Regions from separate parts of the Homo sapiens genome. Here all the other regions are linked to region 1. The links are contacts of gene promoters, found by promoter capture Hi-C in human tissues and cell types (Jung and others, 2019). All regions are on one chromosome and are shown on one strand. The core of a region is centred on a gene start or on the middle of the fragment in contact, and the rest is flanking DNA. Distances in the headings are between cores, read along the strand shown. Region 1 holds the start of OLFM2 (olfactomedin 2). Region 2 has its middle 7.0 kb from the start of ICAM3. Region 3 holds the start of ZGLP1 (zinc finger GATA like protein 1). Region 4 holds the start of ZNF561-AS1 (ZNF561 antisense RNA 1).

The links. The method cuts DNA at HindIII sites, captures the fragments that hold promoters and counts their contacts. A contact is called where the count stands out against the background at its distance.
Region 2: a fragment that was not itself captured here is called in contact with the fragment with the promoter of OLFM2 in region 1 in 1 of the 25 tissues and cell types used here (dorsolateral prefrontal cortex).
Region 3: a contact is called between the fragment with the promoter of ZGLP1 here and the fragment with the promoter of OLFM2 in region 1, in 1 of the 25 tissues and cell types used here (dorsolateral prefrontal cortex).
Region 4: a contact is called between a fragment that was not itself captured here and the fragment with the promoter of OLFM2 in region 1, in 2 of the 25 tissues and cell types used here (pancreas and spleen).

Annotation. Positions count from the first base shown.
Region 1 is chr19:9,933,279-9,941,030 of GRCh38, forward strand. It overlaps OLFM2 (olfactomedin 2), which reads right to left and starts at 3,237. Exons shown (of 6, transcript NM_058164.4): 1 at 3,026-3,237. The coding sequence starts at 3,088. RefSeq lists enhancers at 2,493-3,087, 3,754-4,256. The HindIII fragment of the contact is 7,550 bases long and covers 1-6,998 here.
Region 2 is chr19:10,342,718-10,350,469 of GRCh38, forward strand. No RefSeq gene overlaps it. Among named protein-coding and RNA genes, the nearest start is that of ICAM3, 7.0 kb to the left of the region's middle. The HindIII fragment of the contact is 7,561 bases long and covers 1-7,129 here.
Region 3 is chr19:10,304,632-10,312,383 of GRCh38, forward strand. ZGLP1 (zinc finger GATA like protein 1) reads right to left here and starts at 5,184. Exons shown (of 5, transcript NM_001409033.1): 1 at 4,718-5,184; 2 at 3,554-3,919; 3 at 1,215-1,321; 4 at 759-852; 5 at 172-577. The coding sequence starts at 4,854. The coding sequence ends at 460. FDX2 (ferredoxin 2) reads right to left here. Exons shown (of 5, transcript NM_001397406.1): 4 at 6,222-6,309; 5 at 5,414-6,011. The coding sequence ends at 5,855. It overlaps FDX2-ZGLP1 (FDX2-ZGLP1 readthrough), which reads right to left. Exons shown (of 9, transcript NR_176052.1): 4 at 6,222-6,309; 5 at 4,718-6,011; 6 at 3,554-3,919; 7 at 1,215-1,321; 8 at 759-852; 9 at 172-577. RefSeq lists an enhancer at 231-1,430. The HindIII fragment of the contact is 11,191 bases long and covers 3,764-7,752 here.
Region 4 is chr19:9,621,215-9,628,966 of GRCh38, forward strand. ZNF561-AS1 (ZNF561 antisense RNA 1) reads left to right here and starts at 268. Exons shown (of 4, transcript NR_122038.1): 1 at 268-431; 2 at 5,570-5,646. ZNF561 (zinc finger protein 561) reads right to left here and starts at 18. Exons shown (of 6, transcript NM_152289.3): 1 at 1-18. RefSeq lists an enhancer at 1-347. The HindIII fragment of the contact is 4,441 bases long and covers 1,070-5,510 here.

The sequences.
Region 1 (7,752 bases), core at 1,987-4,486:
TAGGCTGGAGTGCAGTGGCATGACCTTGGCTCACTGGAACCTCTGCCTCCCAGGTTCAAGCAATTCGCCTGCCTCAGCCTCCTGAATAGCTGGGACTACAGGTGTGCAACACCACACCTGGCTAATTTTTTGCATTTTTAGTAGAGACGGGGTTTCACCATGTTGGCCGGGCTGGTCTCAAACTCCTGACCTCAAGTGATCCACTCACCCTGGCCTCCCAAAGTGCTGGGATTACAGGCGTGAGCCTCCATGCCCGACTGCTATCACTCTAATCTTTTTTTTTTTTTTTTTTTTTTGAGACAGAGTTTCACTCTTGTTGTCCAGGCTGGAGTGCAATGGCGATCGCAGCTCACCGCAACCTCTGCCTCCCAGGTTCAAGCAATTCTCCTGCCTCAGCCTCCCTAGTAGCTGGGATTACAGGCGCCTGCCACCACACCCAGCTAATTTTTTGTATTTTTAGTAGAGACAGGGTTTCACTATGTTGGCCAGGCTGGTCTCGAACTCCTGACCTCAGGCGATCCACTTGCCTCAACTTCCCAAAATGCTGGGATTACAGGCGTGAGCCACAGCACCCGGCTCCAGTCTAATCTTCTATACTTTATCTGTTATTCTTCATGCTACTTGCATTGTATTATATGTATATTTAGTTGCCGACACCGTATTACATGGTTATTCGGCTCTTTTCTGTCTCCTCTGCTAGGTCAACTCCAGGAGAGCAGGGATTTGATGACTCAGTTGGTGGCTGTATCCCCAGTGCATAATCATATCTGTTCATTGAATGGATTAACCAATGATTTCTAGGAAGGACCCCTGGGCCCATCAGGGACAGGGAAGAAGTCTTTGGAAAGTGATGGAGGGAGCGAAGAGTGGGTAGAGCATCCTCTCTGCAGACCCCTCCCTTCCCTGGGGTGCCAGGCTTGGTGGGCCAACGCCAAGGGGGTGTATGGGGCGCCGAGACTGTTTCACAACCATGTAGTTCCCGCGGTGGCCGCCTGGAGGCACTGCAGCCCGCGGCAGGATTCCACCAGCCCCGCCCTAACGGATTACCTCATTTGGCCACGCCCCCGTTGTCCTTTAGCCCCGCCTCCACTGACCTCGTTAGTCCCGCCCCCAAAGCAACTCCCTCCCAGCCCTGGGGGCTGTAGGAGTCACCCTCCAATTGCAATTCTGGCAGCAAACTCTGGCATCCTAGCCAATCTTGGTGAGAAGCCAGAAAATCTAGTGCCCCCCTAGCAGGGAGTGGAGGAGAAGCCACAGGGGGTGGTTCTCTGTCTCCTCTGCTAGGTCAAGGATAATTCAACTTGATTCCTGGCTCATTTTTTTTCCACTGGTTTCTCAAGTGTGTGCCTCTTTTGGTCTCTCGTCTCCCAGGTGTGTCTCTTGGCTTCTCTCAGGCTCACACATCCATTGAGTACCTATTGTGTGTGTCCTCATGCCTGGGGCTGGGCACACTCCCTATCCCACCCAGCGCGTGGGTGCTGAGATGCGTGGGGAAATGGAGGAGCGAGGGAGGGGACCCCACAATCTCTCCTCGTGGCCTGGAAATCCTTCTATCTGGAGTCTAACCTCCATTCCTCCCAACACCCCCCTCGGGGTGAGCACAAGGGTCTGATTCTTTTCTTGATAAGGGGAAGGTGCCCAAATTGTTTCTCCCCTGCCTATCTACCTAAAAGCCCACCTAGCAATGTCTTCACGGACGCTGTCCACACCCATGGAGCGGATTATTTAACAAGAGGGTAATCGTGTGGGCTCAGGAGCCGGACTGCCTCGGTTCAGTCCCACCTCTGTCACTCTCGAGCTTGAGCAAGTGATTTAACTTTTCTGCGCCTCAGTTTCCCCATCCATAAAATGAGGTAACAATACCATGCTCTAGTAGGGAGGAGGCAGAGGGGGTTAAATGCCTTAGTCTGTGCTGTGTGATTGAAACAGCACCTCTCAAATTAGCACGTAATGAATGATCACTGTTATCATAATGACTATTTTATTATTTTTGATCCCAGCTTCCCTGTGAACTCCTACAGATCTGAGAACTTGGGGGTGCTCTCACTCCCAAGATGGAGGAGGAGAGGGGCTTTCCAATAGCAAAAGAGAGCGTGGACGCCCCACATTTTGCAAGCCTCCCTGAGCCTGCCCAAGAGAAAGGTGCCATGGGGAGGGAGACCCGCTTCTGTAAGGGTATGAATGGCGTGTGCGGTTGTGAGCAAGGCACCAAGATACACACACACACGTGCATGGATGGACACGTTTGCACACACAGCGCTTGCACACACACACACCCTTTTAGAGTGATTTACCCAAAGGTACAGAATAGCACACGCTCACTCCAAGGCTCTCACACGGCCACACACCTGGCCACACACGTATTGTACAACACCCAGTCATCTGGAGCCAGTAATGAGGACACGGTCACACACAGACTCTGTCTCACGTACTGATCACACCCCAACTCGGGCACTAGTTGGACAAGCCCCCCAACCGCCACACACACAAACTCCCCCCGGTCACACCCAACCACGACACAAAGACACACACGTTTACCCTGCACCCCCACAGCATTTCACACGCGTCCCCGTCAGTCACTCTCACGTGAGTCCCGTCCCCTGCCCCACACTGGGGGCTGCAGGCGAGGAGTGGAGGGCTTCAGAAACTGGGCATCTCGGCCCCGAAGAGGAAGTCAAGGGTAAGCAACCGCCCCCCTCCAATGCCCCCTGAAGTTTCCCTCCCAACCCCATTCAGCTCCAGCGAGATGGCGGGGTGGGGGCTCGGGGCCATGGAGGGGTTGAGAACCCCAAAGACGCCACCCCCCAAACCAGCCCAGCTTGAGGCTGGATTTGAAGCCCCCCTCGTCCTCTCCCAAGCCAGAGAGTGCACGTCCCGGCCCCTCCCCCGCTGCGACCCCCGCCCCTCGCCGCCCTGCAGCTGGGGGGGCTTGTGGAGCCTCCCAACCCCGTTTCTCCGGGAACCCTCCGCGCCCCCCTCCTCTCCCGGAGCCACCCGCGCCCGCACCTGCCCGCCGGGCCCCTACCTGTCCGGCCAGGCCTGAGCACAGCAGCAGCAGCAGCGGCGGCGGGACCGTGAGCGGCCACATGACGCGCCCCTAGCCCGGCGTCCCGACCCCCGCCCGCCCTAGCGGCGCCTCGGCGCGGGGACCGCCACCAGGCGCGACCCCGCCCGCCCGGCCGGGGCGACCCTGCGCCGCCGCCTCCCCCGCCTCGCCGGCGGCCGGGATTCCGCCCCACCCCCGCCCCCTCGCTCGCTCCGAGTCTTTGTTGCGGGCTCCGCCCCCCGCCCCGCCCCCAGCTCCTCTTCGGGAGCAGCTCGAGCAGGGTCGGGTGGGGGGGTGGGGGCGGGGAAGTGGGGGAGCCAGCGCCGGCGAGGGGACCTGAGGACAGGACTTGGCAGCGCCCCCCAACCCCCAGGCCATTCCGGGAGCGGGTCGCGGAGGTGGGGGAGGGGTGCCCGTCACGTGTTTGTAAATTTCACCCTCCGGGGGCATTTCCCACGTTGCAGGTGGGACGGGGACGAATGGTTGGGGGAGAGGAATAGGAGGAAGGCCTGGTAGCAGAGAGGGGAAATGATGAACGCCCCCTCCCTAAAAACTCAAGAGTCAACAGGGAAACTGAGGCAGAATCTGAAATTGGAAGTTGGAGGAGGGGTCAATGCCAGGACAAGAGGGGTGAGGCATAGATGGAGACGGGGAATAAGAGGAAAAAATTGAGGTTGGGGGGACAGGAGACCGAGAATCAGGCAAGAGGCCAATGGAAATGGCCACGTGGGTGGGCTTGGCCTCAAAAAGGGGCGTCTCGTTTTCACTCTCCCCGGGCGCCCCATTTCCCCACCAGTCCTCCCGCTGGAAGCCTCCCCGCCTCCGCCACACCTGGAAGAGTTTCTCTTCGCTCCCTGTTTCAATAGCCCAAGATGAAAGACCACATCCCCCGAGAGAATCAAAATATTAACACCGCCTCCACGCGAAGCCATTTGCATATGAAGGGCGTCCTTGTCTAGCCTCACTTTCGGGAGGCTTTCCAGCCTTTCTCTGCCTCTCACTCCTCCAAAAGTCTCCCTAGGCCGGGCGCGGTGGCTCACGCCTGTAATTCCAGCAATTTGGGAGGCTGAGGAGGGTGGATCATCTGAGGTCAGGAGTTCAAGACCAGCCTGGCCAACATGGCAAAACCCCACCTCTACTAAAACATACAAAAATTAGCCGGGCGTGGTGGTGCATGCCTGGAATCCCAGCTACTCGGGAGGCTGAGACAGGAGAATCGCTTGAACCCGGGAGGCAGAGGTTGCAGTGAGCAGAGATCGTGCCATTGCACTCCAGCCTGGGCAACAGGAGCAAACCTTGTCTCAAAAAAAAAAAAAAAAAAAAAGTGTCCCTAGTCGTCTTTCCTCCCCACAGCCCCTCTAGGGATTCGGATATATGTAGGCAGAGGTGGAGGAGGGGGGCGGGCAAATAAGTCAGATTGGAAAGAAATCGGGCATAAAATATGCGAGGCCAGGAAGCCTGGCATTTTTGTGACCCTGATACTGTTGGGCTAGGAGGGGTCTCCCCAGACGCTGGTGGGGCCTCGACCCCAGCTGGTGTCCAGGCTCTTAACACCATCGCAAGAATGAATTCAAGGAGGAATCAGAAAATCATGAAAAGTTCGGAGATTTTTTTGTTAAGGGAAAAGTCCACACTTGAGAAAAGGGAGTGGGCGTACTTAAGAGAGAGAGATGGGCAAGGTGGTTTGGGACTGCTACCTTTATGTGTCTCTTTTTTTTTTTTTTTTTTTTTTTTTTTGAGACAAAGTCTCGCTCTGTCACCCAGGCTGGAGTGCAGTGGTGTGATCTCGGCTCACTGCAACCTCTGCCTCCCAGGTTCAAGCAATTCTCCTGCCTCAGCCTCCTGAGTAGCTGGGATTACAGGTGTGCGCCATCACAGCCGGCTAATTTTTTGTGTTTTTAGTAGAGACAGGGTTTCACCATATTGGCCAGCCTGGTCTCAAACTCCTGACCTCGTGATCCACCCGCCTTGGCCTCCCAAAGTGCTGAGATTACAGGCGTGAGCCACCACAACAGGCCACTGTGTATCTCTTTAACCAAGGGATGGAATATTCATGAAAACTGGAAAAAGGTGGACTGTGGTGCCACCCACTTTTACACCAAATTTGGGTGTCCCTGGAATTGTCAAGGGCGCTGGTGGGTGGGTAATTTTAGTATTTTAATGAGTACATAATGAGATCCTAGGTGAAACCTAGGTAGAATGTAACGCCATGTTGGGTCCAGTAGGTCTTAGCCAGCTTGGTCCACACCCTGGTTTTCAGGATCTTATCAGCCCATAGCCTCTAGTCATGTGAAACGGCTGCCTGTGACCACCCTGGATCATTCCTGTCTCAACCCTACTGGGGATAAAACATGTCGATGATGGTTTTGTCAGGTCAATGAGAAAGAGCTTGGTGACCCACAGATCTGGGTTCAACCCTGGTGCTGCCACTTCTTGGCCATGTGACCTTAGGGAAAAAGCTTTCCCCCTCTTAGAAGACCTGTTTTTTGCAGTTATTGGGAGACATCTGTGACTCTAAGCAAAGAGAGCACCTAGCTAGCACTCACTCCCCAGCACGCCTTGCAATAACCAACCATGCACTGGGTTGAGGACACTCATCATGGGATGTGGACACAAAATAGAGTCTGAGCCTGCGAAGACATCCTGTTTATTCTTCTATCTCTTTTTTTTTTTTTTTTTTTTGAGATGGAGTCTCACACTGTCACACCCAGGCTGGAGTGCAGTGGCTTGATCTCGGCTTACAACCTCTGCCTTCCGGGTTCAAGGAATTCTCCCGCCTCGGCCTTCCAAGTAGCTGGGATTGCAGGTGCCTGCCACCAGGCCTGTCTAATTTTTCATATTTTTAGTAGAGATGGGGTTTCACCATATTGGCCAGGCTGGTCATGAACTCTTGACCTCAGGTGATCCACCTGCCTCAGCCTCCCAAAGTGCTGGGATTACAGGCATGAGCCACCGCACCCATCCTATTCTTCTATCTCCTTTTCCCAAATGGGAGACAGTCCTTTGTGGGCCCTTCAGGCCAAGCCTGCAGTTGGCATTGCATAAAAGGAGGACATTGGTTGGTAGGACCCACAAGCTCTTGACCAAGAGTGGGTCTCACGGTCAAGAGTCAGCACTCTTGACTCATGAATGCTGCATTTCAGGACCATGAACAGTGTCCTCCTTGGGCTCTGGTCACTAAGACGATCACAGTTACAACTAAGCTACAGCCTGTGTTATATGGTTGGAATTTGGTCGATATGCACTTAGATCTATTCCCCACTTTCCCCCTGCTCCCCTCTGTATCAGGGCAATGGCTCCTGCAAATTATCTTTCTCAGGTTCTCTACACACTACATTTCCCAGGCTTCTTTGCATCTGGTTAGGCTCAGCCAATGGGAGGTCTACAGGCAGATTGGAGGGTGCCAAGAAAGGAGAAGCCAGAGAATTTCCCCCCCTCCACTTTGAGTGTCTCTAGCCATGGCTGCTGTGCCTCCTCTGTGGTCTCAGTCCCATTAGGTATTCCCCACCATGGTGGGGGGTGGGGGCAGGTGACTGGCCAGGTAACTGCAGCTCCTGGATTCAGGTAACTACCACCTCCCTTTGTTGTTTCAGTCCTTGCAAAGATGATAGCTAGCAACTAGAGTTGATTCACCTGCTCCAGTTTGCGCTTAAAACCAACCTAATAGGGCCAGGTGCGGTGGCTCATACCTGTAATCCCAGCACTTTGGGAGGCTGAAGTGGGTGGATCACCTGAGGTCAGGTGTTTGAGACCAGCCTGCCCAACAAGGCAAAATGCTGTCTCTACTAAAAATACAAAAAATTAGCCAGGCATGGTAGCAGGTGTCTGTAATGCCAGCTACTGAGGAGGCTGAGGCAGAAGAATCGCTTGAACCCAGGAGGTAGAGATTGCAGTGAGCTGAGATCATGCCATTGCACTCCAGCCTGGGCAACAATAGTGAAACTCTGTCTCAAAAAAGAAAAAAACAAAAACAAAACCTACCTATCGGCTGAGTGCCATGGCTAACACTTCTAATCCCAACACTTTGGGAGGCTGAGGCAGGTGGATTGTTTGAGCCAAGGAGTTCAAGACCAGCCTGGCCAACATCTCTGTAGAGATGCTGCATCTCTACCAAAAATACAAAAATGAGCCAGGCATGGTGGTGCACACCTGTAGTCTCAGCTACTCAGGAGGCTGAGGTGGGACGATCATCTGAGCCTGAGAAGGTCGAGACTGCAGTGAGCTATGATTACTCCACTGCACTCCAGCCTGGGCAACAGAGTGAGACCCTGTCTCAAAAAACCCCACAAAAGCAAACAAACAAACAAACCTACCTACCTAATACCTCAGTGTGTGGCTAATTAAAGTCCCCATATTAAATTCTTTCTATTGAATTTGCTGGGATGGGCTGTTTTTCTGACTGGACCTTAGTCAATGCATTCGATGCCGTTGGTCGTTGACTGGTATGGTTAGTGGCCCTCTGGGTGTCCTGATGGCATTGTGGTTTGTGTCCTGTTGAACCGGGATCTGTGCTGCCGTCAACATCCTGGTTCTGCCAGGGTCAGCATTGTGGTCAGAATTGTGGTCACTCCTGGTCATTCTTGGTTGTGTTGTGGTCAGTGTGGTGATTAGTACTACAGTCAGTTTCCTGGTTATGCTGTGCTCTGTCCTAGTGCTATGGTCCTTGTCCTGAGCTTGCTGTGGATAATGACCTGGCCAAGCTATGG
Region 2 (7,752 bases), core at 2,099-4,598, 410 kb after region 1:
AAAATCAGCCAAGCTTGATGGCACACACCTGTAGTCCCAGCTACTCAGGAGGCTGCAGCGGGAGGATTGCTTGAGCCCGGGAAGTGGAGGTTGCAGTTAGCTGAGATTGTGCCCCTGCACTCCAGCCTGGGCGACAGAGAAAGGTCACCTACACATGTTTAAGGGGCCTCTGCACATATCTCAAGCCATTGACAAGAAAGCAAGTACAGTCTGGATTGCAAACAATGTATAATTTAAGCTCCAGCTGATTTTTTTTTTTTTTTTGAGACAGGGTCTCAGTCTGTCACCCAGGCTGGAGTGCAGTGGCATAGTCTGGGCTCACTGCAACCTCTGCCTCCCAGGTTCAAGTGATTCTCCCGCCTCAACTTCCCAAGTAGCTGGGATTACAGGCATGCACCACCACACCCAGCTAATTTTTTGCATTTTTAGTAGAGACGGGGTTTCACCATGTTGACCAGGCTAGTCTCAAACTCCTGACCTCAGGTGATCCGCCCGCCTCGGCCTCCCAAAGTGCTAGGATTACAGGCGTGAGCCACCGCGCCTGGCCTCCAGCTGATTTTTGACAGCCACATTGTTGCTATAGGATCCTTTTTACGTGTGATGGTGATGGTCTCTGGTTCTCCTCATTCCCACAAAGGTTGTTGAACCACAGCACCAGTAACACTGAGAATGCTAAGGGCTCTAGCCCAGGCTTTCTCCCAGGTTCTCTGGTGTGCGCCCTCCTGGTGACAATGAAATTGAAGCTAATTGCTTTCACTGGTTGAGTCTCTGATCTTGAGTGGCTGTGTCCACATTTCATTTTTTTTTTTTCTGGTAGGAATAACTACTTTTCTGCATCCATGCTCCATAGACTCTGTCCTTTTCAGACATCCTGGGATAAAAAGATTTGGCTTTTTTTTTTTTCTTCTTCTTCCTGAGACAGGGTCTGGCTCTGTCTCCCAGGCTGGAATGCAGTGACATAATCATGGCTCACTGCAACCTTGACCTCCCAGGCTCAGGTGATCCTCCCACCTCAGCCTCCCTAGTAGCTGGGACTATAGGTGTGTGCCACTACACTCGGCTAATTTTTGTATTTTTTCTACAGAGGAGCTTTTGACATATTGCCCAGGCTGTTCTCGAACCCCTGGGCTCAAGTGATCCTCCCAACTCAACCTCCCAAAGTGCTGGGATTATTACAGGGGTGAGCCACTGTGCTGGGCTTTCACTCTTAGGCTATTAAACAATGAAGGTAGTTATTGATCCTATCTCTTTCATATTCTTCTTCTTTTTTTTTTTTTGAGAATGAGTCTTGCTCTGTCTCCCAGGCTGGGCTCACTGCAATCTCCACCTCCCAGGTTCAAGCGATTCTCCTGCCTCAGCCTCCTGAGTAGCTGGGATCACAGGCGTGCGCCACCACACCCAGCTAATTTTTGTATTTTTATTAGAGACGGGGGTTTCACCATGTTGGTCAGGCTGGCATATTCTTCTTTCTAAGAACTGAGAGTGAGGGGGCTGTATTGAATCTCTTCATGCACCAGGAACTGAGTTCTGAAGATGATCTTATTATTATCAGTATTTTTTGAGATGGGTTCTCACTCTGTTGCCCAGGCTGGAGTGAGGTGGTTCAGTCTTGGCTCACTGCAACCTCTGCCTTCCAGGTCCAAGCGATTCTCCTGCCTCAGCCTCCCAAGTAGCTGGGATTACAGGCGTCTGCCACCAGGCTTGAGCTACCACGCCCAGCCAAAAGAGCATATATTATGTATAGAAATAATAAGACGAGCCAGGTGCGGTGGCTCATGCCTATAATCCCAGGACTTTGGGAGGCTGAAGCGGATGGATCACCTGAGGTCAGGAGTTCGAGACCAGCCTGACTAACATGAGGAAACCCAGTCTCTACTAAAAATACAAAAAATTAGCCAGACATGGTGGCTCGTGCCTGTAATCCCAGCTACTCAGGAGGCTGAGGCCGGAGAATCACTTGAACCTTGGAGGAGTTTGCAGTGAGCCGAGGTCACACCATTGCACTCCAGCTTGGGCAACAAGAGAGAAACAACGTCTCAAAAACAAACAAACAAACAAACAAAACCCAAGAAATAATAAGACCATTTGGAATTACTGGACTAATAGAATAGTTAAGGTTTCTTATAGAGGCAATAAAATGTATTTTGAAAGAGCTGCTAACTATTGATGCTGACAGTATTTCATTCCTGTGAGTGACTCAAGCATATTATAAATAGCTAGTAAAAGCCTGGCCAACATGGCAACTAAAAATACAAAAAATTCACCGGACGTGGTGGCGCATGCCTGTACTTACAGCTACTTGGAAGACTGAGGCCCAAGAACCGACTGAGCCCTGGAGGCCGAGGTTGCAGTGAGCCGAGATCATGCCACTGCACTCCAGCCAGGATGACAGAGGAGAGAGACTCCGTCGCAAAAATAAAAATAAATAAATAAATAAATACCTCGTAAAGGGAACGGAGCCTGTGGGGTTGAGCAAAATGTACTAGCTGTGCCTGCAGTGAGTATAACAGCTTTACGATTATGAGGAAACAATTTTTTCTTTTCTTTTTTTTTTTTTGAGATTAAGTCTTGCTCTGTCGCCCAGGCTGGAGTGCGGTGGCACGATCTCGGCTCACTACAACCTCCACCTCCCAGGTTCAAGTGATTCTCCTGCCTCAGCCACCCAAGTAGCTGAGATAACAGGCGCCCGCCACCACACCCAGCTAATTTTTGTATTTTTAGTAGAGACAGGGGTTTCACCATGTTGGCCAGGCTGGTCTTTAACTCCTGACCTCAGGTGATTCACCCACCTTGGCCTCCCAAAGAGTTGGGATTACAGGCATGAGCTACTGCGCCCGGCCCCAGCCAAAATTTTTAATAGCAATGCAGAAAAAGAAGAAAACATGACAGGCGCAGTGGCTCATGACTGTAATTCCAGCACTTTGGGAGGCTGAGGCGAGCAGATCACCTGAGGTTAGGAGTTCGAGACCAGCCTGGCCAACATGGCGAAACCCCATCTCTACTAAAAATACAAAAATTAGCCAGGCGTACTGGCCCCACGCCTGTAATCCCAGCTACTCAGGAGGCTGAGGCAGGAGAATCACTTGGACCCAGGAGGCAGAGGTTGCAGTGAGCCGACATCGTGCCACTGCACTCCAGCCTGGGCGACAGAGCAAGGCTCCATCTCAAAAAAAAAAGTCAACAAGACAAACAACCTAGTTTCATCCACAAATATGTTGCAAGGGGGCAAAAGACAGAAAGAGGAACCCACAGACCAAAAGAGACGTAAGAAAACTGGCCTCGAGCAAATGCAATTGGGGACTTTGTTTGTATTTTTATTTATTTTTATTTTTTATTTTATTTTATTTTTTGAGATGGAGTTTCACTCTTGTTGCCCAGACTGGAGTGCAATGGCACAATCTCAGCTCACTGCAACCTCCGCCTCCTGGGTTTAAGTGATTCTCCTGCCTCAGCCTCCTGAGTAGCTGGGATTACAGGCACACGCCACCGCATCCGGCTAATTTTTGTATTTTTAGTAGAGATGGGGTTTTGCCATGTTGGCCATGTTGGTCTTGAACTCCTGACCTCAGGTGATCCGCCTGCCTTGGCCTCCCAAAGTGCTGGGATTACAGGCGTGAGTCACTGTGCCCGGCCCTGTATTTTTATTTATTTTATTTTTTCAGAACTAAAAGAGACTTACAGAAAACTGGCCTCAACCAAACGCAATTGGGGACCTTGTTTGTATTTTTATTTTTTTATTCAGAACTAAAAATAAATGATCTATTGGGCGGGTGTGGTGGCTCATACCTGAAAGCCCAGCACTTTGGGAGGCTGAGGTAGAGGGATCATTTAAGCCCGGGACTTCATCAACCTGGGTAACATGGAGAAACTTCGCCTCTACAAAAAATACAGAAATTAGCTTAAGCGTGGGAGGCGGAGGTTGTAGTGAGCAGAGATTGCGCCACTGCACTCCAGCCTGGATGACAGAGCAAGACTCTGTTTCAAAACTATGGGGACAGTAAATAACAGATCAGCAGTTGCCAGGGGTTAGTGAGAAGAGAGGGATGAACAGGCAGCGCATGAATGACGTTTAGCGCAGTGAAACTACTCCATGTGATACTATATTGGTGGGTTCATGCCTTATACGTTTGTCCAGCCCCACAGAACGTACAACAGCAAGAGTGAACCCTCATGTAAAGTACAGACCTCAGGAGAAAATGATATGTCAGTGGAGGTTCATAGATTTTTTTTTTCAGACAGAGTCTTGCTCTGCCGCTCAGGCTGGAGTGCAGTGGCATGATCTTGGCTCACTGCAACCTCCACCACCACCTCCTGGGTTCAAGCAATTCTCTTGCCTCAGCCTCCTAAGTAGCTGGGAGTACAGGTGCCTGCCACCATGCCTGGCTAGTTTTTGTATTTTTAGTAGAGATGGGGTTTCACCATGTTGCCCAGGCTGGTCTCGAACTCCTGACCTCCCAAAGTGCTGGAATTACAGGCATGAGTCACCGAGGTTCATAGATTCTAACACATGTATCACTGTGGTACAGGATAGGTCAGCAAGGGAGGTTGTGCAGGGGGATGGGAGGGAGGGGATATAGGAGAACTCTGTATTTTCCACTCAACTTTGCTGTAAACCTAAAACTGCTCTAAACAAATTGAGTGGTTATCCTACTACTCAAGAGGCTAAGGTGGGAGGATCACTTGAGCCCAGGAGTTTGAGACCAGGCTGGGCAGCAGAGTAAGACGCTGTGTCTACAAAAAATTTTAAAATTAGCCAGATGGCCAGGCATGGTGGCTCACACCTGTAATCCCAGCACTTTCGGAGGCTGAGGTGGGTGGATCACCTGAGGTCAGGAGTTCGAGACCAGCCTGGCCAACATGGTGAAATCCTGTCTCAACTAAAAATACAAAAATCAGCCAGGCGTGGTGGCGGGCGCCTGTAATCCCAGCTACTGGGGAGGCTGAAGCAGGAGAATCGCTTGAACCCTGGAGGTGGAGGTCGCACTGAGCCTAGACCGTACCATTGCACTCCAGCCTGGGTGACATAGTGAGACTCCCTCTCAAAAAAAAAAAAAAAAAAAAAAAAAAATTAGCCAGGTGACGTGGCAGGAGCCTATAGTCCCAGCTCCTACAGAGGCTGAGGTGGGAGGATCACTTGCGCCTGGGAGGTCAAGGTTGCCATGGGCTATAATAGCACCACTGTACTCCAGTGTGGGTGACAGAGCGAGACCCAGTCCCCAGCCCCACAAAAGAAGTCCTTCTGGGGATATTTAACTGCCTTTCACAAATGTGTCTGACCCACCATCTCAAGTCACACAGGCTAAGTAGAAACGCTTTGCCAAACACCAGAATAACAATAATACCTTTTTCTTTTCTTTTTTCAGACAGTCTTGCTCTATCGCCCAGGCTGGAGTGCAGTGGTGCGATCTCAGCTCAATGCACTCTGCCTTCCAGTTCAAGCAATTCTCCTGCCTCAGCCTCTAGAGTAGCTGAGATTACAGGTGTGTGCCACCACACCTGGCTAATTTTTGTATTTTTTTCCTCAACAAGAACAAACTTGGTAAATAACGATGATTGTTCATGGTTTCAGACTCCTTTTTTTTTTTTTTTTTTTTAAGTTCCAGGGTACATGTGCACAATGTGGTTTGTTACATAGGTATACATGTGCCATGTTGGTTTGCTGCACCCATTAACTCATCATCTACATTAGGTATTTCTCCTAATGCTATCCCTCCCGCAGGCCCCTACCCCACAACAGACCCCGGTGTGGGTGTGTGTTGTTCCCTGCCATGTGTCCAAGTGTTCTCATTGTTCAGTTCCCACCTATGAATGAGAACATGCGGTGTTTGGTTTTCTGTCCTTGTGATAGTTTGCTGAGAATGATGGTTTCCAGCTTCATTCGTGTCCCTGCAAAAGATATGAACTCATCCTATTTTATAGCTGCATAGTATTCCATGGTGTATATGTGCCACATTTTCTTAATCCAGTCTATCATTGATGGACATTTGGGTTGGTTCCAAGTCTTTGCTATTGTGAATAGTGCCGCAATAAACATACGTGTGCATGTGTCTTTTTTTATTTTTTTTTGAGACAGAGTTTTGCTCTTGTCACCCAGGCTGGAGTGCAATGGCTTGATCTTGGCTCATGGCAACCTCTGCCTCCTGGGTTCAAGTGATTCTCCTGCCTCAGCCTCCCAAGTAGCTGGGATTACAGACGCCTACCACAATGCCCAGCTAATTTTTGTATTTTTAGTAGACAAGGGTTTTGCCATGTTGGGCAGGCTGGTCTCAAACTCCTGACCTCAACTGATCCGCCCGCCTTGGCCTTTCAAAGTGCTGTGCTGGGATTACAGGCGTGAGCCACTCTATCCAGCCAACTTCATTTTTAAAATTTTTATTTTAAAATAATATAGGCTAGGTGTAGTGGCTCACGCCTGTAATCCCAACACTTTGGGAGGCCGAGGCGGGCAGATCACCTGAGGTCAGGAGTTTGAGAGCAGCCTGACCAACAAGATGTAACCCCGTCTCTACTAAAAATACAAAATTAGCCGAGTGTGGTGGCGTGCGCCTGTAATCCCAGCTACTCCGGAGGCTGAGGCAGGATAATCGCTTGAACTCAGGAGGGGGAGGTTGCAGTGAGCCGAGATAGCACCATTGCACTCCAGCCTGGAGAACAGTGAAACTGCCTCAAAAATAAATAAACAAATAAATAAATAAATAAAAATACGGACAGGATCTCCCTATGTTGCCCAGGCTGGTCTCGAACTCCTGGACTCAAGGGATCCTCCTGCCTCAGCCTCCCAAAGTGCTGGGGTTACAAGCAATGAGCCACTGCATCCAGTCAACAATAATATTGTATATTTATTTATTTAATTATTATTTTTTTGAGACAGAGTCTTTCTCTGTCACCCAGGCTGGAGTGCAGTGGTGCAATCTCGGCTCACTGCAATCTCCGCCTCCTGGGTTCATGACATTCTCCTGCCTCAGCCTCCCGAGTAGCTGGGACTACAGGCACCCGCCACCACGCCCGGCTAATTTTTTTGTATTTTTAGTAGACGGGGTTTCACCGTGTTAGCCAGGATGGTCTCAATCTCCTGACCTTGTGATCCTCGTGGCCTCCCAAAGTGCTGGGATTACAGGCGTGAGCTGCCGTGCCCGGCCAATATTGTATATTTATTAAGCACTTGTTTGCATGTCTTTCTGCTCAGCATTTCACAGACACCACCTCATGAGCTCTTTACATGAGTCCTATGAGATAGCAAGTGTGAAGCTCCCATAATGGAGGACTAAGGCCCAGAGAGGTGAAGCCATTAGCCTGAGGTCACACAAATGTGAAAGGGTGAAACTGGCAGTCTAATCTATGTGGCTTGTGACCGCCCCGACCAAATACTTTGTGTATTCAACAAGTAGTTATTGGCCAGGCGCAATGGCTCACACCTGTAATCCCAGCACTTTGGGAGGCGGAGGCAGGTGGATCACCTGAGGTCAGGAGTTCAAGACCAGCCTGGCCAATAAGGTGAAACCTCAACTCTACTAAAAATACAAAAAATTAGCCAGGCATGGAGGCGGTCACCTGTAGTCCCAGCTACTCGGGAGGCTGAGGCAGGAGAATGGTGTGAACCCAGGAGGCGGAGCTTGCAGTGAGCCTAGATCACGCCACTGCACTCCAGCCTGGGCGACAGAGCAAGACTCTGTCTCAAAAAGAAAAAAAAAAAAAAGTTAAACAGTTGAATCCAGCCACCTCTGCGCTGTCTCATGCTAGCTGCTGTCCACA
Region 3 (7,752 bases), core at 3,934-6,433, 370 kb after region 1:
TAAATGTGGCTAATTCCCTGTGTGGGGGCTGCTGCCTGTGGATAAGACTGTGTCTCTGTGCATGCGCACGTGTGTGCACGCCCCTCACAACCCCAACGAGAAAACACCTGTCCACCTTCCTGGGCTGGCACAGGGGCACAGGAGGCGGGATCCCAAATCACAGGCTTTTTCTCTCGGCATATCTCTGTACTTTATTGTCCCTGCTGTAACAATGCTCATCCTTCCTGAGAGCGTCTCCTGAGGGGGCCTCGGCCAAGGCTGACTGGAGAAGGGGCTGGTGACCCCTAGCAGGCTCTGCCACCTGAGGCCTGGGTCTTCCCCCGGGATCCTTGAATCTGGAGATGGCAGAGAGGAGGCAGGCCGGCTCTTTCCCCAATCCTCCTAGGAGAGCTGCTTCTGCCCATTCTCCCACTGGTGAAACGGAGGCAGAAGCAGCAGCTCAGCAGGGTGAAGCTGGGTTTAACCTTCCTGAATGGGGTCCAGGGACACTCCACATCTGCCACATAGCCTCTTGGGCTGGACATTTTTCCTGGGCACCAGCCAGCAGCTGGAGCAGCGAGTGCCGTATTTCTTGTACCTAGGGTTGGGGGACAAGAAACTGCCATTTAGGATGCAGTGGGGGCCCGGAAACCGCCACAAGGAAACCACTTTTCCCAAGAGGTAGGTGTTTTGCTTTTTGCTTTCCCCACAGGCCATCCTGGTTACACGTGGACTGATTTGGGGACCCCCGCCCCAACTCCCTCCTCCATTCTAAGGACCTGATCCCACAGGCGTTGCAGAGAGGGGTCCCATCTTCAGCGTCTCTCCAGAGCGGGGTCCTCTGGGTCCGACAGGAAGCACAGCGCCGGGGCTCTGAAGGGTCAGAGGTCAAAGGGCAGGGGTCAGAGGCCAAGCATGTGAGCTCGGGATGCCTGTGCGGAGTCGGGCATTTTGTGGGGGTCTCAGTAAAGGCCCCACCTAGCTCTGGATCAGCCCTGGGAGTTGCCAGCTCTAAGCCACAGCAAAGCCAGGAAGGGAGACAGATGGCAGCATTCCGCAGAGGAGGAAGCTGGGGGTGGGGGTGACTCAGCCCAAGTGGAGGGGGGTGCTGCGACTCCTCCCTGAGGGCTCTAAATGGGGAAGCAAGATGGAGAAGGGGGGGGCAGGGAGAAAGGCAGGGAAGACAGGAAATTGGCCCCCAAAATATTTATAGCTCTTGGGTTTTCAGGACTCACCCAGGGCCTCGCTGCCTGCTGAGTGGGCCTCGGTGCCTCCTGGGTGGGCTGCAGGGCCCCCAACAGCATCTGCAGGGGATTCCTGAGAACGGCTACTGCAGGGCAGGCTGTGGGGCAGACAAGGTATTAGCACTGGGGGGGATCTGTAGCTTGTCCCCAACAGCCCTCCGAAATGAAGATTTAGTATCAAGGTATCAGCCATCCCCCGAGGAGGCAACTAATATCTGAATGGCCTGGCTTTGCCTCTCATTAGTAATATTATTATTATTATTATTATTATTTTTGCAGATGGAGTCTCGCTCTGTTGCCCAGGCTGGAGTGTAGTGGTGTCATCTCAGCTCACTACAACCTCCACCTCCCGGGTTCAAGCAATTCTTGAGCCTCAGCCTCCCAAGCAGCTGGGACTACAGGCGCGCGACACCACGCCCAGCTAATTTTTGTATTTTTAGTACAGACGGGGTTTCACCATGTTGGCCAGGCTGGTCTCGAACTCCTGACCTCAAGTGATCCACCCACCTCGGCCTCCCAAAGTGCAGGGATTACAGGCATGAGCTACCGTGCCCGACCTAATTATTATTATTATTATTTGAAAAATAGTAAGCACAGGGACAGCCTGCCAGGTTCCAATCCCAGTTCTCCATGTCCTTGCTGTGTGAGCCTGGACACATTATCTCCTACTCTGTGCCTCAGTTTCCTCATCTGTAAAATGGGCTTCCCAATACAACAGTTTTTTTTTCTTTGAAAATTTGATTTATTGATTTTTAAAAAGAGATGGGAGTCTGGGCAATATAGGGAGACCCCGTCTCTACAAACAAAAAAAATAGCCAGGAGTGGTGGTACAGGCCTGCACTCCCAGCTAGTTGGGAGGCTGAGGAGGGAGGATGGCTTGGGCCTGGGAGGTCCAGGCTGCAGTGAGCCATGATTGCGCCACTGCACTCCACCCTGGGTGACAGAGCAAGACCCTGTCTCAAAAACAAACAAACAAACAAAAGCAAAAAAAAGCAGCCAGGCATGGTGGCGGCTCACTCCTGTAATCCCAACACTTTGGGAGGGCAAGGCAGATGGATCACCTGAGGTCAAGAGATCGAGACCATCCCGGCCAACATGGCAAAACCCCATCTCTACTAAAAATACAAAAATTAGCCAGGCGTGGTAGCAGGCACCTGTAATCCCAGCTACTCCAGAGGCTGAGGCAGGAGAATCGTTTGAATCCGGGAGGCAGAGGTTGCAGTGAGCCGAGATTGTGTCATTGCACTCCAGCCTGAACGACAGAGTGCAACTCCATCTCAAAAAAAAAAAAAAATATTGTTTTGGCGGCATGATTAAAAAAGTCATAATTATAATTTTTATAATAACAATAAATAGGTAAAAATTAGAGCTGGGGGTCATACTATGTTGCCCAGGCTGGTCTTGAACTCCTGGGCTCATGCAATCCTCCCACCTTGGCCTCCCAAAGTGCTGGGATTACAGGTGTGAGCCACCAGGCCCAGCTTCCCAAAGCTTTTTTTTTTTTTTTTTTAAGGGGATGGAGTCTTGCTCTGTCACCCAGGCTGGAGTGCAGTGGTGCCATCTCTGCTCAGTGCAACCTCCACCTCCTGGGTTCAAGCGATTCTCCTGCCTCAGCCTCCCAAGTAGCTGGGATTACAGGTGCCCATTACCATTCCCAGCTAGTTTTTTTTTTTTTTTTGAGACTGAGTCCCACTCTGTGGCTCAGGCTGGAGTGAGGTGGCGCTATCTCTGCTTACTGAAGACTTCACCTCCTGAGTTCAAGCGATTCTCCTGCCTCAGCCTCCTGAGCAGCTGGGATTACAGGCACCCACTACAACGCCCAGCTAATTTTTTGTATTTTTAGTAGACATGGGGTTTCACTATGTTGGCCAGGCTGATCTCAAACTCCTGACTTCAGGTGATCTGCTCGCCTTGGCCTCCCAAAGTGATGGGATTATAGGCGTGAGCCACTGTGCCCGGCCTCCCCAGGCTTTTGAATGAGCCCATACACATAAAATACTGCCTGTTAACCTCTTATTGTTGTCACTACCAACAAATAGTAGCTGTTAGCATTATTGGGAAAAATCACCGCAGCCGCAGCTGCAGCCTAAGCAAGGCCAGGCCTGATTCCTAAAGAGACCAGGTCTCACATTGGGAGTGGGGAGCCACTGAGTCAGGAGCGGCAGGACTGTATCTGGCACCAGCTCAAGTTGTCAACCAGAGACTGGGCCACGTGTAACGTAGAGCACAGGTGAGGGTCCACACCGACGCCAGAGAGCACCCCTACCTCCCACACTGGTGTTTGCGTTGTAACTGGGAGAAAGGGCGGCCTGGCCCCAGCCGGCCCCTACCTGTACGTGGGGATGATCTGCAGGCTGGAGTCCGGCTTTATCTGAAACTTCAGAGTCACCCCCTCGAACCCAGGGTCCACTCTCTCGGTGCCCCGGCAGGGGTTCAGCTGTTTCCGGGGCCTTCTCTGGGGTGGGGCCGAGGGAGTCCCCGGGGGCTGCAGACGGCGGCCCTTTTGGCTGATCCTGGTCTGTGTGTCCTTGGAATCCCTGTCCAGCAGCAGGCGGCCCTGAGTCCCCAGAGCCATCGGGTCCCAGCAAGGCCCCAGGACCGGGGTGTCCTGGGCAGGGGACTGACCCAGCCTCTCCACTGTCTCTTGGAGGAAGCACAGGGCGGTGACCGACTCCTGGCATGCAGGCCAGAGGGACCTGGGGAGAAGGGCAGTGGGGTCACGTTTTCTTGGGTGACTCCTGGGTTTAGCCGGCCAGGGGGTTCCAACTTGGGCCGGCTCTTTGTGTACCCTTGGACAGGCTACACACCCCACCTGAGGTTCAGTCATTTCTAACTCTGGGTGGAAGGTTTAAGAGTTGCAGTAATTGCAACTCACCTCGCCCACTGTGGGCCTCCCAGGCACGCCCAGCCCTCCACATCAATCAACCCCTTACGGCACCCGTAGATCACCCAGGCAGGGACCGCCCTAGGTGACCGAGGCAGGATATCAAGCCTCTGGCTGCAGGATCGAGAAAAAGGTTACTTTTTTTCTTTGTGTTTCTTTTAGAGACCGAGCCTCACTCTGTACCCCCGCCTGGAGTGCAGGGGCGTGATCAGGACTCAGTGCAGCCTAGAACTCCTGGGCTCGACCGATCCTTCCGCCTCAGCCTCCCGAGTAGCTGGGACTTACAGGCACGCGCCACCACGCCGCTGGCTTGCCATAATATGATTACGATTTTTATCATTTTCATTATTATTGAGTTGCCCTCCATAACCCCTGGATGATCCCTGGGGAGTGCCTACATCAGCCCCAGAGACATGGAATTGCATGGCCTCTGATCCCTAGATGACCCCAAGTGTCTCTGGGCACCAGAACCTCTTTGTAAGTTTCAGTAACTATTATAAAATTGCCACTTCTCGATAACCCCAGCAAAGAGAGGTCATGACCCCTTGATCACTGAGCCAGGTGGTGAAGTGCTAGCGGGGTCCGGGGAATGGGGTTTGGCCTTACGCACCTCTCACTGATTCTGCAGCATCCTGGGGTCCTCGGCTTCTCCTGGGAGGGGGATCCTCCCAGCCGCTCCAGGTTCAGACAGGGCGGCGCCAGAAGCTTTGCTGGCATTGAGGAGTCCGGGATTGGCTCGGCCTCCATTGCGCCCCAGCCCAGCCCCCTCCCTAATTTCACCCGGCCCTGTCCCGCTGGGCCCACCCGATGAAACCCACCTGGGAGGGGCGGGACCTGTGTGGTGGGAGCGCTCTTGGTAGAGGATGCGATGAGCCCCAGCTGAGAGCGACCAGCCTCGGCGGCACCTTTCCTCTTTCTGGCTTTTTTCAGGTCATCCGCGCACCCCTGCGTGGCAAGGGCGGCCTGGACCCCACCAAATCCCTCCGCAGCTGCCGGGGCGGGGCCTTCCACGCTAGCCCTCCCCCTCGGAAATGGGGGCTCCCAGGCCTCTGCCTTGGATCCCCAGCGGCATCTTAGATCCCAGAGGGAAAAGAGAACCGGGGGCCCAGCACAGCAGATGCAGGTGTGGTTTGTTTTTGTTTTTGTTTTTTTTTTTTTTGAGACAGGGCCTCACTCTGTCACCCAGGCTGGAGTGGAATGGCCTGATCACCGCTCCACTGCAGCCTAAATCCCCTGGGCTCAAGTGATCCTCCCACCTCAGTCTCCCGAGTAGCTGGGACTACAGGCACTTACCACCACTCCACGCTAATTTTTACTGTTTTTATAGAGACGAGGTCTCGCCATGTTGCCCAGGATGGTCTTAAGCTCCTGGCCTCAAGTGATCCTCCCATCTTGGCTTCCCAAAGTGCTAGGATTACAGGTGTGAGCCACCTGTAGACCCCAGATCTGTCCCCCAAGGACACTCAACATGCTGGGGCCTGTGTTATCGATTTATTGCAGCTCCAATATGAGTCCACTCCTACTCAAACCCTGATTCTCAGGGGCCTGGGGAAGGCCACCCCACTAGGGGCCCTGTCCCCACCAGAGCCTGGACATGGGACTCTCTCCCAAGCAGGGGTGTTGTCCTTCACAGGGGCTTCCACGTCTCTCCCGGGCCTGTCCGCACTCTGGGCAGGGCTGGCACCTGGCTATTCCCTCAATCTGGGCCCTGGGGCCATGGCAATGTGGAATGGTCCAGGTGTTCATGTCAGTGGGGCTTGGGGACATGGCCATCCACGTAGAAGTTCCTGGTGATCTTGGGCAGGGTGAATTCCGCTCCTTCCAGCTCCGGTGTCAGCACAATCTGGCAGCCCAGCCGCGAGTTCTCCTGGAGGAGGGGGGCCATGTCTAGCATGTCGTCTTCCCTAGGGTGGTGACACGGGCAGTGTTAGCCGAGGGCAAGCTAGCTGGGTGGGTGGGGGGCCAGAGGTGGGGGAGGGAGGAAGCTGACTGAGCGCAGGGGGTAGTGGTGGGGGAGGCAGCTCCCATTCCAGGAACTGGAAGTGGGGAGGATGGTGGGGGCTGCTGAATGCTCCAGGGTGAAGCTGCCAGCTAGACAGGGCTGACCCACTCACCTCTCCTCGGGAGGAGGCAGGAGATCCAGGTGGTCTTCACTCACATACACATGGCAGGTGGAGCAGGCCAGGGAGGCTTCACAGGCCCCTAGGGGTGGGAAGTGAAGGGGGCGCAGGTGAGTGGCAGAGTCAGGAAGGGGCTGCTATGCGAATGGCGTAGAGGAGTAGACCTCTCTTCCACCACGTGCCTCACGTCTCCCTCCTGGGCCTGCAGCTCCACTGTGTGTACCAGGCACTGTGTCATGTCCTCAATGTCCTCAGCTAGCTGTTCCCCAGTGTGTAGGGTTTACAAACGGACATCTGGGAGGCCCCATTTCCCAGGGACTCCCTAGCAGGCTGAGATGCAGAACCATTAAGGAGCAGGGACTTGGCTGCCAGGTAGCTGAGAGGGGAAAGGCCAGGCAGGCTCCCCGCAGTCTGTGAGCCCTTGCTGTGACCCTATCACTGTGCTGGGCTAATGTGTCCCCACCTCTCCACTGCTCTTGGAGGATGGACCGGCTGACTCAGCAGTCAGTGTGGTGGGGGAAGGAATCAGGCATTAGGATTTTGTTTTTTTTTTTTTTGAGATGGAGTCTTGTTCTGTTGCCCAGGCTGGAGTGCAGTGGCACGATCTCGGCTCACTGCAAGCTCTGCCTCCCGGGTTCACGCCATTCTCCTGCCTCAGCCTCCCAAGTAGCTGGGACTACAGGTGCCTGCCACCACGCCTGGCTAATTTTTTTATATTTTTTTAGTAGAGCTGGGGTTTCACCATGTTAGCCAGGATGGTCTTGATCTCCTGACCTCATGATCTGCCCGCCTCAGCTTCCCAAAGTGCTGGGATTACAGGCGTAAGCCACTGCACCCGGCCAGGATTTTTTTTTTTTTTTTTTGAGACAGGGTCTCACTCTGTTGCCCAGCCTGGAGTGCCATGGCTCAGTCATAGCTTACTGCCTCAACCTCCCGGCTCAAGCGATCCTCCCACCCCAGCCTCCCGAGTAGCTGGGACTACATGTGCGCACCACCACACCTGGCTAATTTTTTTTTTTTTTTTTTTTTGAGGTGGAGTTTCGCTCTCTTTGCCCAGGCTGGAGTGCAATGGTATGATCTCGGCTCAATGCAACCTCTGCCTCCCAGGTTCAAGTGATTCTCCTGCCTCAGCCTCCCAAGTAGCTGGGATTACAGGTGCCCACCATCACGCCCAGCTAATTTTGTATTTTTAGTAGAGATGGGGTTTTGCCATGCTGGCCAGGCTGGTCTTGAACTCCTGACCTCAGGTGATCCACCTATCTCGGCCTCCCTAAGTGCTGGGATTACAGGTGTGAGCCACCGCACCTGGCCATATTTTTTTTTTTTTTTTTTTTTTTTGTAGAGACGAGGTTCACCATGTGGCCCAGGCTGGTCTCAAACTCCTAAGCTCAAGCAATCTGCCTGCCTTGGCTTCCCAAAATGCTGGGACTACAGGCATATGCCACTGCACCAGACCAGGAATTAGGGTTGAAAGAGACAGAACCTGAAGTTTTCTGCTGACCACCTGCCCTTGGTCACACCCCCA
Region 4 (7,752 bases), core at 2,040-4,539, 310 kb before region 1:
GAGCCAGCGCCGGAAAAGATGGCGGTGGTGCGCTGACGTCACTTCCGCTTCAACACTCTGGCCGGGCGAGGCTCGTGGGCTCCAGTTTCAGCCACGTAGGACCGGGTAGAACACAGAAATTCTAGTTTCCTCTCGGGTGGGTGCAGAAAGGGCCTGGGGTTGGCTCAGGGAGGGGGATGCAGAACTAGGTCCAGAGAAAAAGGTGAGGTTAGAACCGGGCCTCCAGACGGAACTGTGGGCGAGGGGAGGGGCTCGTACTCGGGGGGTGATTTAGAGGAGGGACCCGGCCTAGCCGGTGGTTCAGGTGGCCGGTCGGGCTGGAAGGGCGGGGATGAGGGATGGGACGCATCCCCGGGGGATGCTCCTCCAAAGCTTTTATCGGGCGAGCGCAGTGGCTCACGCCTGTAATTCCTGCACTTTGGGAGGCTAAGGTAGGTAAATAGCTTGAGTCTGCTGGGAATGGGTGCTCGCTTGGTGTCACAAAATCAACACTGAGACAAAGGATCTCAGCAAGGCTAGTTTTACTTTCTGCAGAATGGGTGCCACTGGCTGGCAGTCTTGCCACCAGAGCACACATTAACAAAGGAGACAGGGTTTTTTTAAACTTGAAGTGTCCATCCTTCTGCTGTGTCCAGCTTCCATTGGCTGGAACGGGACCTCACCTTCCTGTACTTCACTGGATTGGCTAGCAACTTAGAACTTCCCAAAAGAGGCAATGGCAGAGGAGAACAAAGGAAGAGAGGAAGTAACTTGTGGACTGTTGAGAGAGGCAAAAACACTTCTAAATAGGGAAAGGAATAGGCCATGACCTAATAGTTGCTTGGACCAGTTCAGGCATGCCAGGGCAAATATCTAGGCTAAAATGTGGGAGCTAAAAACAGAGTCTATTGATTTCTTTATTACGGCTGGCAGAATTTAACAATATTACCACAGGTCTTTGAGAAAATTTGGCTTCTAAGAGGGATTACTATTTATTTCAATCAGACTGGGAGGAAAGTCCCTTTGAAGAGGAACCTGTATTTATTTCATTTTCTACAAGTCCAAGAGTTTGAGACCAGCCTGGGCAAAGTAGCAAGACCCTGTCTCTCTCTCTCTCTCTCTCTCTATATATATATATATAAACATATATGTATAAATACATATAAATATATAAATATATAAAAAATATATAAATATACATGTTCAAAATGCTTGTTCCCTGGTGCCATAAAGAAATTAGCACTTGAACATAAATTTAATTTACTCAGCAAGGCCATTTTTACTTCCTGCAGAAACGGTATACTCACCAGCAGTTTTGCCACGAGAGTACACCAAACAAAGGAGATAGGGTCATTTATAACCTGATGCTTCCAACCTACTGCTGTGTCCAGTTTCCACTGGCTGGAATGGGACCTCACGTTCTGGCTAGCAACTTATAACTTTTTAAAAGAGGCAAGGGTAGAGGAGAACAAAGGAAGGAGGAAGTAACTTGTGGAATGCTGAGAAGGGTCAAAACATCTTCAAATAAGGAAAAAGAACAGGCTATGCCCTAATGCTTGCCTGGACCAGTACAAGCATGCCAGGGCAAATATGTAGACTAAACTGTGGGAGCTAAGAATATAAAGTACATTGATTTCTTTATCACGGCTCACAGATACTTGAGAATGTTAGCACAGGTCTTTGAATAAATTTTGCTTCTAAGAGAAGTTACTATTTATTCCTAATTAAATGTGAAGGAACGTCTTTGAAGAGGAACCTCTGCTTTACTTTTTAGATATAAATATAAAGCTTGTTTGTATGCCTCTCCTCATGTTCCTAGAGCCTTTCCATGATTCTTCCATATTGATAAAGCTGCCAATGAATGGCATGGTCTATCCCTTCCATTCAGTCAGAGTTTCTGTAGGCCTTTTTTTCTTCATTCTTTATTTTTTAGAACCTGCTGATTCCATTGGGTTTTCTTTTTCTTTCTTGCTTGCTTGCTTGCTTGCGACAGATCTCACTGGATCAGACCAGGCTGGAGTGCAGTGGTGTGATCTCAGCTCACCGCAACCTCCACCTCCCAGGTTCAAGCAATTCTCCTGCCTCAGCCTCTGGAGTAGCTGGGATTACAGGCGCCTGCCACCACGCCCAGCTAATTTTTGTATTTTTAGTAGAGAACGATTTCACCAGGTTGGCCAGGCTGATCTCGAACTCCTGGCCTAAAATATCTGCCAGGCCAAGATGGTAGGATCGTTTAAGGCCAGGAGTTTAAGACAAGCCTGGGCTACACAGCAAAACCCCATCTCTCTATATATATATAAAAAAAATTTAAATTAAAAAATGTTTTGTTTTGTTTTGTTTTTTTGAGACATAGTTTCGCTCTGCCACCCAGACTGGAGTGCAGTGGTGCGATCTTCACTCACTGCAAACTCTGCCTCCTGGGTTCAAGCCATTCTTCTGCCTCAGCCTCCTGAGTAGTTGGGACTACAGGCATGTGCCACTGCGCCCAACTAATTTTTGCATTTTTAATACAGACATGGTTTCATCATATTGACCCAGCTGGTCTCAAAGTCCTGACCTCGTGATCCATCCACCTGGTCCTCCCAAAGAGCTGGGATTACAGGCATGAGCCACTGCCCCAGCCAAAAATATGTATTTCTGTTGTTATTTTTCTGATCTTACCACATGGGCCAGGAACACATTTCCTACGTTGTAAAATAGCACTGATACCAGACATTCTCCCCAAGATTATTCAGAAATGTAACATACTCCCAATAAAAATACCAAAAGTTTTTTTCTGGAGTTAAGTACATTGATACTGAAGTTTATGTGGAGGAACAAACATCTGATAATAACCAAGAAAACAAAAACAAAAGCAATGATGAGCAGCAGATATTAAAACATACTATTGACAGTTTTCATGCAAGGCAAAGAATTACATTATTTTAAAATAAAAATAAAGTCCGGGCACAGTGGCTCACGCCTGTAATCCCAGCAATTTGGGAGGCCGAGGCAGGCAAATTACCTGAAGTCGGGGGTTTGATACCAGCCTGGCTAACATGGTGAAACCCTGTCTCTACTAGAAGTACAAAAATTAGCAAGCGTGGTGGCACATGCTTGTAATCCCAGCTACTTGGGAGGCTGAGGCAGGAGAGTTGCTTGAGCCTGGGAGATGAAGGTTGCAGTGAGCCGAGATTGTGCCACTGAATTGCAGCCTGGCTGACAGAGTGAGACTCTGTCTAAAAAATTAATTAATTAATTAATTTAAAAAACATACTATAAAGCCTCTATAATTAAAACTATGTGGTACTAGCACGTGAAACAGAAACTAATAAAATATCAAAAAATAGACCCATGAACATGTAGAAATTTGGTTCATAAATGTATTTTGCCAGATGCGGTGGCTCATGCCTGTATCCTAGCAATTTGGGAGACTGAGGCAGGAGGATCACTTGAGGTCAGGAGTTCAAAACCAGCCTGCCCAACATGGTGAAACCCCATCTCTATTAAAAATACAAAAACATAGCCGGGTTCGGTGGCTCATGCCTGTAATCCCAGAACTTTGGGAAGCCGAGGCAGCCGGATCATGAGGTCAGGAGTTCGAGACTAGTCTGACCAACATGGTGAAATCCCATCTCTACTAAAAATACAAAAATTAGCTGGGTGTGGTGATGCATGCCTGTAATCTCAGCTACTCAGGAGGCTGAGGCAGGAGAATTGCTTGAACCCAGAAGGCGGAGGTTGCAGTAAGCTGAGATCGCACCACTGCACTCCAGCCTGGGCAACAGAGTGAGACTCTGTCTCAAAAAAGAAAAAAAATTTAGCCAAGCATGGCCGAGCATGCTGGCTCATGCCTGTAATCCCAGCACTTTGGGAGGCTGAGGCAGGCAGATCACGACGTCACGAGATCGAGACCATCCTGGCCAACTTGGTGAAACCCCGTCTCTACTAAAAATAGAAAAATTAGCTGGCATGGTGGCGGGTGCCTGTAATCCCAGCTACTCAGGAGGCCGAAGTAGGAGAATCGCTTGAACCCAGGAGGCGGAGGTTGCAGTGAGCCAAGATCGCTCCCCTGCACTCCAGCCTGGCGATAGAGCGAGACTCCGTCTAAAAAAAAAAAAAAAAAAATTAGCCAAGCGTTGTGGTGGGCGCCTGTAAGCCCAGCTACTCGGGTGGCTGAGGCAAGAGAATTGCTCAAACCTGGGAGGCAGAGGTTGCAGTGAGCCGAGATCACGCCATTTCACTCCAGCCTGGCGACACAGCGAGACTCTGTCTCAAAAAAAAAAAAAAAAAAAAAAAAAAAAGCCGGGTGCATTGGCTGATGCCTATAATTCCAGCACTTTTGGAGGCAGAGGCGGGTGGATCACCTGAGGTCACGAGTTAGAGACCATCCTGACCAACATGAAGAAACCCCGTCTCTGCTAAAAATACAAAATTAGCTGGGCATGGTGGCACATGCTTATAATCCCAGGTACTCAGGAAGCTGAGGCAGGAGAACCGCTTGAACCCAGGAGGCGGAGGTTGGGGTGAGTGGAGATCGTGCCATTGCATTCCAGCCAGGGCAACAAGAGAGAAACACCGTCTAAAAAAAAAAAGTGGCATTTCAGATAAATGGGGCAAAAAATGCCATTTGTAACAAATGGAAGGTCTAAGATAGCTGGTTAGCCATCTGAGAAAAGATGAAATTAAATCCATACTTCACAGCATATACAAGAATAAACTCCAAGTGGACTAGGGATCTAAGTGTAAAAAATAAAACCACACACGTATTTAGGGTGTTTAAGTGATTTCTTGGCTGAGTAAGGAAAAAGATGTTACCACAAGGCGGCAGTAGCACACAAGCTTCATTTGGGATGTGCTTTGACAGGTTAGCAGTGGGGGAGGTAGCAAACAGCAAGAGAATATCCACAGGCTTCTACCTGTGGGTCGCTGCTCAGAAAGGGTGGAAAGGAAGAAAGACTCTCAGAGGAGAAGGGGAATCAAAGAGGGGGCTTATAAATAACTAAATGATGATATTCACCAGACTGGCAGCATATCTTCCAGTTAAAAAGCTCTGAAGGATAAGTCTGGCCAATATGGTGAAACTCCGTCTCTACTAAAAATACAAAAATTAGCAGGTATGGTGCCAGGTGCCTATAATCCCAGCTACTTGGGAGGCTGAGGCAGGAGAATCGCTTGAACCCAGGAGATGGAGGCTGCAGTGAGCTGAGATTGTGCCCCTGTACTCCAGCCTGGGTGGCAGAGCAAGACCCTGCATCAGAAAAAAAAAAAAAAAAAAGCTCTGAAGGACCGCAGGGGTATGGGGTTTTCATAGCCCTGGAGTTATCTTATCTATGGCTGTCAGATATTGGATATAATTTCAGAGAATACAAAGCAGGCGCACTCGAAATGGCTAAAAATAGGCTTGTTCAGGCTATGTTTCAAACAATCCAGTGTGTTAAAATTGCAGTTTGGCAGGGGTAGGCTATTGTGAATACTAGTGAGACAAACATTGGTGTACAAATATCTCTGAGTCCCTGCTCTGAACAGTTTTGGATATGCCAAAGTGGAATATCTGGATCACATGGTAATTCTGTTTAATCGTTCTTTTTTTTTCTTTTTTTTGAGACAGGGTCTCACTCTATTGTCTAGGCTCGAATGCAGTGACGTGATCATGGATCACTGCAGTCCTCAACTTACTGGGCTCAGGTAATCCTCCCACCTCAACCTCCCAGGTAGCAGAGATTACAGGTGCATGCCACCACCATCCTTGGCTGAATTAAAAAAAATTTTTTTGTAAAGACCATATTTCACCATATGCCCAGGCTGGTCCTGAAGTCCTAATCTCAAGGAATCCCCTGGCCTCAGCCTCCCGAAGTGCTGGGATTACAGGTGTGAGCCATCACATCCAGCATGGTTTTGATTTTCATTTTCATGATGTTTAGTGATGTTGAGCATCGTTTCATGAGCATCTTTTCGTGTGTTTATTGGCCATCTGTATATCTTCTTTGGTGATATTATTCAAGTCCTTTTTCTGTATTGAAATGAGTTTTGTTGTTGTTACTCTTGGGTTCTAGAAATTTTAAAAATAAACTCTGGATATTTGTCCCCAGTCAGATACAGGACTTGCAAATATTTTCTCCCATTTGTAGATTGTCTTTTTACTCTCTTGTTATTATGCTTTGATGCACAAAATTTGTATCATTGATTAGGTTCAACTCATAATTTTTCTTGTGTTGCCTGTGTGGTTGATGTCATAACTGAGAAGTCATTTCCAGTTGAAGCTTTCTCACCTATGTTTTCTTCTAATAGTTTTCCAGCTCTAGCTCTTACACTACACTAAGGTTTTTGATCCATTTTTAAAAAATCATGCCACATTATTATTATTATTATTATTAAGATGGAGTCTTGCTCTGTCACCCAGGCTGGAGTGCAGTGGCACAATCTCAGCTCACTGCAAACTCTGCCTCCCAGGTTCAAGTGATTCTCCTGCCTCAGCCTCCTGGGTAGCTGGGATTACAGGCGCCTGCCACCATGGCCAGCTAATTTTTGTATTTTTAGTAGAGATGGGGTTTCACCATATTGGCTATGCTGGTCTCGAACTCCTGACCTTGTGATCCACCTGCCTTGGCCTCCCAAAGTGCTGGGATTACAGGTATGAGCCACCACGCCCATCCTTCATCCATTTTAAGTAAATTTTTATATATGGTATAAGGTTAGGGTCCAACTCCATTCTTATGTATGTCTATATCTCAGTTCCTCCCCCATATAATCCTGTCCCCAGGGAATCAACAACCCATGCTCTTCCTAGTCACCTCCTTGAACATGTCCCTCCCCCAGGAAACCTCCAACATGAGATAGAACAATGTAGAAAGGACATTCAAAACTTCCCTTTCCCTTGTTTGTCAAAGGAATCCGCCCCAACGGTTGTCCCCTTAAGGGAAGTCCCACTGGGGGGAGGGGGCATTGGTTGCATTAATGCCCTCTTAACCAGCTCAGAAGTCAGAAACTTCAAAAGGGAACTCAAACCATTGTTAGATGACCCTTATTGGGTAGCAGATCAAATTGATCAATTTTTAGGGCCACAGTTGTATACTTGGGCTGAACTAATGTCCATTTTAGATATTCTTTTCTCAGGGGAGGAAAGGACTGTGATCCACAGGGCCACTGTGATAGTCAGGGAACGTGAACATCCTCCTGGCCAAAACGTTCTGCAGCGGACCAAAAATTTCTGTTCCAAGACCCTCAATGGGACAATCACAATGCAGCTCACCAAGAAAATATGAGGGATCTCGGGGAAATGATAATTAAAGGAATTCGGGAACCAGTACCCTGAACTCAAAATATTTCCCGAGCATTCAACATACAACAAAGAAAGGAAGAAGAGCTCATGGAATTTTTAAACAGACTCTAAGAGCAAGTTAGAAAATACGCAGGCTTAGAAATAAGAAGATCCACTTCGGCAAGGATTGTTAAAACTCCACTTTGTCACCAACATTTGGCCAGAAATTACAAAAAAATTGTCAAAAAAATAGAGAATTGGAAAGATAGCTCCATAGAAGAACTTCTAAAGGAGGCCCAAAAGGTATATATGAGAAAAGACAAGGAAAGCAGAAACAAAAAGCAAAAATTCCACTGCCCACCCTTCAACAAGGGACACAAGGAAATAGGTCCCATAAATGTTCTAAGCCACTAGCTGCAAAGTCACATACAGGAAAGAAAAGGGATAAAACCTGGGGACCTAACGGCAAGAAGGGAAAAGGGGGAAAATAAATGTTTCAGATGTGGGAAACTGGGACACTTTAAGACAGAATG